Regions from separate parts of the Homo sapiens genome. Here all the other regions are linked to region 2. Evidence: promoter capture Hi-C in human tissues and cell types (Jung and others, 2019). All regions are on one chromosome and are shown on one strand. The core of a region is centred on a gene start or on the middle of the fragment in contact, and the rest is flanking DNA. Distances in the headings are between cores, read along the strand shown. Region 1 has its middle 19 kb from the start of OR2M4. Region 2 holds the start of OR2M3 (olfactory receptor family 2 subfamily M member 3). Region 3 holds the start of OR2M4 (olfactory receptor family 2 subfamily M member 4).

Region 1 (2,743 bases), core at 110-2,609, 53 kb before region 2:
AAAAAAGAATAAAATTCTGGTTCATGCTACAACATAGATAAAACTTAGATGAAGTGAAGCTATGCATAAAAGGAAACATATGACATACTAGAATATTCAAATTCATAGAGATAGAAAGATAACTTGACTGGTATGAGACTCATTTCTCTGCCAAGCATCACCATGGCAACCACACAAGTTTGTCTCCTTTGGGTTTTCTAATAAAGGGTTCTTATTAGTCTCTGAGAATTTCCCCGAATTTATCTAATAGAATAAGGCTCCAATTAGCTACAACTTTGGAGTGAATAAAATAAAGTTTTAACTCTTGCTAATGAGAGGCTATTTAATAAGACTCTGTGGGTGTTCAGCTTTGACAAACTCATTAAAAGTTTTCATATCACAATCCCAGAAGCCTGATTTAACAAGCCTCGGAACAGCATTCTTCCAATTAACTCCCTTCTTCCCCGTGCTTGGAGCAGAGAAACAGTTGCCTGTGATTAGTGATTTGCTGTCTTTGTTAATGATCAACCCCATCTCCATTATTATAAGGGAAAACAAAATAATTAAAGTTTTGTAGAGTTTATCAATGCTTTCAGGGCAGTGGAAGTGCCCTTCGACTTCTGTGTACTAACTTTGTTAATGATCTGTTGAGTAATAGAAGACCTCAGAATCTTTCTTAAACATTTTTAGAATAAATATAAATTAAAATATATGTATATATATAAAGGATATTATAATAAGTCCAACAAACCTAATAGTGGTTGAGAGAGATTGTGTGGCAAACTCTGAAAGCTAAAAAGTTGTTGAGATGATATTAATTCTAGTCTCTCTTTGCTTCTTAATATTTTAATGTACAGGCATTTAAGAATATTATAAATAATAACCCACTAGATAATCTTTCAGGCAATAATTTTATTTATATCTATATTTGTACAAAAAGGGGTGAGAGGTATTAAACCATTTTTTTCTGAGATCCTTTTCATCCCTAATTACTGCTGTAGTATATTACTGATAATATTTTACTTTCAATGATAGGTAGGCATGAGAGTGCTAAGGCATTGTAGATTAGTATAAATCATGAGCATACTGATGCAAAGACTCAGAAGCTCATCTTCACACATTGATTCTCATAGCCACTCACTTAGATGCCTCCCTGAAGGAAATACATACGGTGATCAATGCCAGGAAAAAAGGCCCTTTATTTTTATTTTGTGTTATTTTTTATTGATGCAAATATTTGTATACTTATGGGATACATGTGACATTCTGTTACATGCATAGAATGTATAATGATAATGTCAGGGGATTTGGGATGTCTGTCACCTCGAGTATTTATCATTTCTAGGGTTTGGGAATATTTCAAGTTCTCTCTTCTAGCTATTTTGAAATGTATAATGCATTGTTTTTAAGTATAGTCACTGTACTCTGTTACCGGGCATTAGAACATATTCCTTCTATTTAACTGTATGCTTGTATCCACTAATCAACTTCTCTTCATCTCCTTCTACACACACTCTTCCCAGTCTCTGGTATCTATCATTTTATCTTCTAACTCCATGAGATCATCTTTTTTAGTTCCCATATATGAGTGGGAATATGTGAGATTTGCAAAAGACCCTTTTAAAATCTCATTATTTTTGTCCGTTTTTCTTCACTCCTCAATTTAGTTGCTTATGGAGCTTTTTGAAATACCCTGTGTTCCCTCTATGTACTTTCTGCCTAAATTCACAGGCAAGCTCATGTCTTTATAGATGTGGCCACAGGAAGGCTCACACACTAAGAGGAAGGTAAAGGAAGGCCTCTCCATAAAAAAAAAATAAAATAAAACAAAACAAAGCAAAATTGTTTTGTTTGTTTTGAAACTTGTGTTTCAAAGACTAGTTGGATCACTCAGTTTACCATGTCACAATTCTATTTGTATTCATACTGAAATAGGCATCTAAGTGTTACAATTGCCTGTCATTATGGAAGCAAAGACTCTTTAAATATCCTTTAAGTAGTAGTTAAATTTTGGTTATCTAAAAAGTACATTTGAACCTTTCACCCAACATAAAATCTAAGAACTCAATAGCAATTTACATATAACATGTGGCCTCACCTTACTCCATTTCACTACTTCTACTGCCAAAATTTTGAGCATCCTAAACCCAATGTTCCACATCCTCTCATTCTCATGTTCATTTAGCTTTATGTAGATGTTAAACATCTTTTGTTTTGATTCTTTAATGATTCATAAAATTTTAGAAAAGCTATTGTGCAGCAAGTAATCTTCCTGAGCTTGCTTTATGGTATTATTAAGATTCATTCTATTTTTTTATTGCTCAAATATATTGCTTTCAGCTATTGTAAAATATTCCAATTTGTGAATACAAGAAAAATTATTTATCATATTATTTAGACACAGAAATTTTATATATCTACCATAGAAACAAACCTTTTGAACATGCCTTTGTGTGACTCCTAGTATACTGGAAGAAGTTTCTTGGGTTCTATGGAGAGAAATAGAATGGTTGGACTGTTTGGAATGTAAAAGTCCAATATAAAACATGGTGTTGATTTCTTTTCCAAAGTGCCAATATCGGTTTTCATTCTAGTCGGCAATGCTAAATTGTTTTGCTAATAAACATACTCAACAACATTCAGTATTGTTTGAGTTTTCTATTTTTTCTGCTGGAATGGGGATAAAATACCACTCTTGACAATTATGTCAGAAGTTTACTGGCCACGTGTGTCTGTTTTTCTGTGAAATAACTGCTCATATATT
Region 2 (2,905 bases), core at 45-2,544:
TGTGTAATCCACTGAGGTTGCTAAACTGACTTTACCCTTTTGTAATAGGAATGATCAGGAAACAACACAAAACAACAAATCTCTCATATTAGCAAAAATGAGCATAGCAACTTTATATGTAATATAAAAATGCAACCTGCATGTGCACTAACGATGGAATTTATAAGCATAACTACAAGAAGTAGCATTGATGAGTCTCACAAATAGAATGTTGAATGAACAAAGTAGATCACAAGGAATGCCCTCATGAATCCTATTATGAGTAATTTAAACACACATCTAAAAATCACTTATGAAGCACAGCAATACTGGAATAATGACTACCTACAAAATGGGCCTGAAAAGTTATATAATCAGAGAGAGTTAAACTGTTTTTCAAAGGCACTGGTAATATTTTAAAGCATTTTACAAAATGTATATCTAACATATTTTTGTAAATAAACATTTTATACTCTGAAGTTTAATAAAATATTTTAAAAATAGGTGTAAACGTCTTAAAAGAATACATGACAAATGTAAAGCATTCATTAATACGGGTTGAGGATTCCTTATCCAAAATGCTTGGGACCAGACGTGTTGCAGATTTCAGATTCTTTTTCACACTTTGGAATATCTGCATAGCTAATAATGAGATTTTTTTGGAATAGAACCAAGTGTAAGGAAAAAATTTATGTTCTATGTATACCTTATACAAATAGCCTGAAGGTAATTTTATGCAGTATTTTAAAACAATTTTGTGTATGGGAGAAAGTTTGTGAACCATCAGGAAGCAAAAGTGTCACCATCTCATGTCAGCACTGAAAAGGTTCTGATTTTGGAGTGCTTTGGGTATTAGATTTTGGTTTAGGAATTCTCATCCTGCATGAGCTAAAATTATTAAAAGAAAAGAGAACGTGGCCAAAATTTTCAAATCATTGTTTATGGTTCTCATCTGCTACTCTTCTCCTCTGACATCTATTCACTGTCAATTTCTTTTTCAAATCTGGAATACCAGGACATGGAAAAACAAAAGTAATGGATTTTATCCAATCTTTCACACTGATAAGCTGGAGCAAGTAACCACTCCTTCTGCCTCAGATTGTACCACATTTCTCAAAGTAATATTGTACAGATAAAATAGAATAATGTTTATAAAATTCTTAGCACAAAAAATGACTTAAGAAATGAGATCAATCATCACCATGTTCAGCAGAAATTTCAGCACTAGCTTATACAAAGTCATGCTTGCGCTTGGTTAACTTACCTCTTAGTACTTACCTGAATAGTGTATATTTTCAGTGAGATTGTGGTTTCCTGGAAAGGCAAAAATATATAAATATCTTACAGGTTTTATGTTTCCATAATAAGAAAAAAAAGCACCTAACGTACAGTTGGAATCTTTATGGTTATTGAAAAATAAATGAAAAGACAAAAACTTAAATTTTCAGCCCTTGGGGAATCCATTCCCTTGTCTTTAATTTTAAAAGTTTGTATTTCCTTCTGTCTCCTCTCCTAGGACATGAAGCCGAATTAGCTTCCTTTTCTTGAAAATACTACAAAGATAATTACGCCTCCTTCCTTGTAGATTAGGGTGAACTTTCTGAAACTTCCCCCTCTCTCTCACATGATGAGGTGAAACACACTAAGTGCTTTCTGTGTAACTGGCACTATGTTTAAAAAAAAAAGGTTTGTAAATTAACATAATACTTACAACCATTGTGTATGCCAGATACCCCTATTAGACACATGTATATATTATTATATAATATATTTAATTATATTGTCGTATGTTTTACATGTGAAACTGAGGGCAGAAGTAAATTGACGTCTCAGAGCTAGAGAATGGCAGTCAGGGTGTTCCAGGCTAATATCATTCCTCTTCCATGGTTTCTCTTCACTCTTCCTTCTGCTCCATCATCAAAGCAAGATATGTTTGGGTAGAATTGGCATTTTTAACATCTTAAAGTTCCCTACATAATTCTAATTCTATTTGTATGTTCTTTAGTATGTTTTCTATCCCTTAAAACGCCTGTATATATTTTCTGTCAAAGTCATTATAAAATTGAAATGTTTATAGGTATTTTATATTTCGTTGCTCTAGTGTATGGATTATTGTTTCTATTACATCTTCTATTTGTTTTTGTTAATATATAGAAATCTGTTAATTGTTGCTTATAGACCTTGAATCCAAGAATGGTAATTTTTTTGTATTCCTTAGTGAAGAGAAAAATATTACATACAATGGATGAAACAACTTTATATGTCTTTCCAATTTTATCTATTTTCCTTGCATCATTTGATTAAAATATATATATTTAAAATGTTGAAGAACAATATTCTTGAGTACCTGAAGCCTTTAGCGATATAGTTCACCATGACATATAGTGTTTGTTTGAGGTTTTGGTAGGTGTATTCAGCACATTAGCAAAATCCCATTGTATTTCTTTTACCAATGCTTTCTTCAATAAATGTTCACTGAATTGTATTGAATGATATCCTGTTTTTACTGAGATAATGTTATTGTTTTTCTTAAATTGTTCATAGCCTGAATTACAAGGATAGCTATTTGTATATTTAGAAATATTTCAGTGGATGACAATGTATAAAACAAATAAAACACCAATGTACCCATCACCAGCTTAAAATAAAATATTACAGGCTGGGCATAGTGGCTCACGCCTGTAATCCCAGCACTTTGGGAGGCCAAGGCAGGTGGATCACTTGAGGCCAGGAGTTCGAGACCAGCCTGGCCAATATGGTGAAACCCCATCTCAACTGAAAATACAAAAATTAGCAGGGCATGGTGGCTCAGGCCTGTCCCACCTACTCAGGAGGCTAAGGCAGGATAATCGCTTGAACTTGAGAGGTGGAGATTGCAGTGAGCTGAGATTGCGCCACTGCACTCCAGCCTCAGCGACAGAGCAAG
Region 3 (2,960 bases), core at 304-2,803, 34 kb before region 2:
TACAATGTCACATGAAATTGTAAAATCCTCACATTGCTAGAACTATTTTGATTCTTCCATATGATTTTATGCCAATTATTAATGAAAAATGGAGAAGAATGAGGAAAATGATAGAAGGCACTTGACTAAGTGAGAGGAAGAATTAAGTGTCTGGAAGAGAGGTGAAGGCATATGAGGAAAATAAGTGCTAAAATTAGAGCTAAAATAGAAATAAAAAGAAAACAAAATAATATTAAGAGGGCCTGAAGTGATAAGAAATTTTGGAATATTAATGGCGATCAGAGAAGGAGAAACCACATAAACTATGAAGAGATCTAAGTGGGCACAAAGTCTTTGGAAAGAAGCTCAACCCCACTGAGTCCAGCTTTTCCCTAGACCTTGTGATTTTTACCAACCTGAAGATTTCCAACCACATATTGTAGCATATTCAATGTGTCCAGATTTCAAGAATGTCTCACACACTGTGGAATTTAACTAAATCAGATTTTATTAAATTTTTCTTTACTTCGTCTTTATAACATTGATTGTCAGAATTTTATGAATTAGTATATTTCATGAAAAATTAAGAACACAAATAAGAAAACTGGGTACTTTGTGGGAGTGAATCACTTCCCCAATAATTTCTAAACTAAAAATTTACACTGGGTGGTATGTAGAAAATTTTTAAGTCCAAATTTTCATGTATGTTTGAAGCAGTAGATAGACACCACTTGGTATATGATTGTTTTTGTAAATTCATGTTGAGGTGTAGATCCACCAGGTAGAAGATAGTTATGTTTCTCATAAAGCTTCAATAAATATTCAATAAATTAAAATAACCATTAAGAATACTATGTCTCTCTTTCTTCTTTTCCTTCATTTTTAGTATGAAACAGAAAGAGAGTCCAGGATTGCAGGAGAAATGAGGACATTTCCAGGATACTCCACAATTAGGTAGTTGTGAAGAACTACCTAATTGTAATAATCAGGTTGAGGAAGGCTTACACTTGTGTGATTCTGTATAGTGTTCCAAAAGCTTTTTAATGCACATGAACTCGTGATTTTCCTCAATAAAGTCATATAAGGTCAGCACAAGACATAACGGAATTTTTTTTCTTTTAAAGAGTGTTATATGTCTTACTCACAGGTGGTGATCAAGGGGAAAATTCGCCAAATCAGTTCTGGGTTCTTTATACTCTGGAATATAATAATCACTGCCTGAGCTGTATTACAACCTTTTCTTCTTTCTCTTCTAGAAAAGATTCAAAAGCAGCAACTCCAGTAGTCCAAATGACCCACTTGTCCGAAGGCCTATCCACCCTACAGCATCATGGACCTTAAATTCTATACCTCCACAAAATGTTAAATCCCCTGACATCAATTATAGATGGCATGCCTTCTTTCAGAATTTCTCCTAGGAAACAAAATCCATGTGGACCCCAAGGCTCTAGTTACTTTTTGCCAATACTGTCATTCTTTACTTGCTATAAAGTCATAAATGGCTGCCTACCTTTCTTTAGGAAGTAAATTGTGTTAATGAGAAACTTAAATCTTTACAGATTATTAAAATGCGATTAAAATTAAAACAGGGAATATTTATTACAAAGTAAATGAAATCTGTCAACCTGCCTTCTCAATTGTGTTAACATTTTTAACTTATTTCTAGTATATTGTATCAAATACTTAAGCTGGGCCGGGTGCAGTGCTTCATGCCTGTAATCCCAGCACTTTGGAAGTCCAAGGCAGACGGATCACAAGGTCAGGAGATGGAGACCATCCTGGCTAACACGGTGAAACACCATCTCTACTTAAAATACAGAAAAAAAAAAAAATTAGCCGGGCTTGGTGGCACGTGCCTATAGTCCCAGCTTCTCAGGAGGCTGAGGCAGGAGACTCGCTTGAACTCGGGAGGTGGAGGTTGCAGTGAGCCGAGATCGCGCCACTGTACTCCAGCCTGGTGGCAGAGTGAGACTCCGTCAAAAAAACAAAAACAAAAACAAAAACAAAAAAACACCAAATGCTTAAGCTGATATAAATGTAAATAAGCTCTTAGATGCCTAAACGTATGCAAGCATGTGATTGACAATTTAAAGGGGCACTAAAGACTTGTATGTGGCCTATATCTTTAAGATATATCCTTTGCATTTTCCAGTAAATTCACTATACTAATTCAAAACAAGTCTACATTTGGTCTTGCTTCTCTCCACTCTCAAAAGCTTTCATTTGTCTGCAGCAATGACTTTTTTTAAAGTTTAATTTAAGTTCTGGGATACGTGTGCAGAACATGCAAGTTTGTTACATGTGCCATGGTAGTTTGCTGCACACATCAACCCATCATCTAGACTTGTTTAAAATTTATTTATTTTTATTTATTATTATTATTTTTTTGAGACGGAGTCTCGCTCTGTTGCCAGGCTGGAGTGGAGTGGCACGATCTCGGCTCACTGCAACCTCCGCCTCCCGGGTTCAAGCGATTCCCCTGCCTCAGCCTCCCGAGTAGCTGGGACTACAGATGCATGCCACCATGCCTGGCTAATTTTTTTTTTTTTTTGGTATTTTAGTAGAGATGTGATTTCACCATGTTGGCCAGGATGGTCTTGATCTCCTGACCTTGTGATCCAGCCTCCCAAAGTGCTGGGATTATGGGTGTGAGCCACCATGCCTGGCCATCATCTAGGTTTTAAGCCTTGCATGCAACTCCTGGGGAAGGCATGAGTTGAACAGGTGAAGAGTAGCCAGCTTTCAACGTGGATCTCCAGAATTCTGGCAGCACAAGACTCTATGATTCTCAAAGATACTTGAGCTGCAAGGAGAGCTACTTAGAGAGATGACAGGGGCAGGACTCCATCCTGCGTAAAGCCCAGACAGTTTGGCATTGAAGTGACTGCAGTGGATCACAGCCAGGGATGCCCATCCCCCCAGGCTCACCAGGCTCTTCTATAAGGCTTTGGGCGACTGTCAGAACTGGACAGAGCAGATTG

The links. The method cuts DNA at HindIII sites, captures the fragments that hold promoters and counts their contacts. A contact is called where the count stands out against the background at its distance.
Region 1: a fragment that was not itself captured here is called in contact with the fragment with the promoter of OR2M3 in region 2 in 3 of the 25 tissues and cell types used here (adrenal gland, small bowel and thymus).
Region 3: a contact is called between a fragment that was not itself captured here and the fragment with the promoter of OR2M3 in region 2, in 3 of the 25 tissues and cell types used here (mesenchymal stem cells, neural progenitor cells and small bowel).

The regions. Positions count from the first base shown.
Region 1 is chr1:248,249,192-248,251,934 of GRCh38, reverse strand. No RefSeq gene overlaps it. Among named protein-coding and RNA genes, the nearest start is that of OR2M4, 19 kb to the right of the region's middle. The HindIII fragment of the contact is 5,547 bases long and covers 1-2,743 here.
Region 2 is chr1:248,195,654-248,198,558 of GRCh38, reverse strand. It overlaps OR2M3 (olfactory receptor family 2 subfamily M member 3), which reads right to left and starts at 1,294. Exons shown (of 2, transcript NM_001004689.2): 1 at 1,258-1,294. The HindIII fragment of the contact is 15,210 bases long and covers 1-2,905 here.
Region 3 is chr1:248,229,745-248,232,704 of GRCh38, reverse strand. OR2M4 (olfactory receptor family 2 subfamily M member 4) reads right to left here and starts at 1,288. Exons shown (of 2, transcript NM_017504.2): 1 at 1,125-1,288. The HindIII fragment of the contact is 3,002 bases long and covers 53-2,960 here.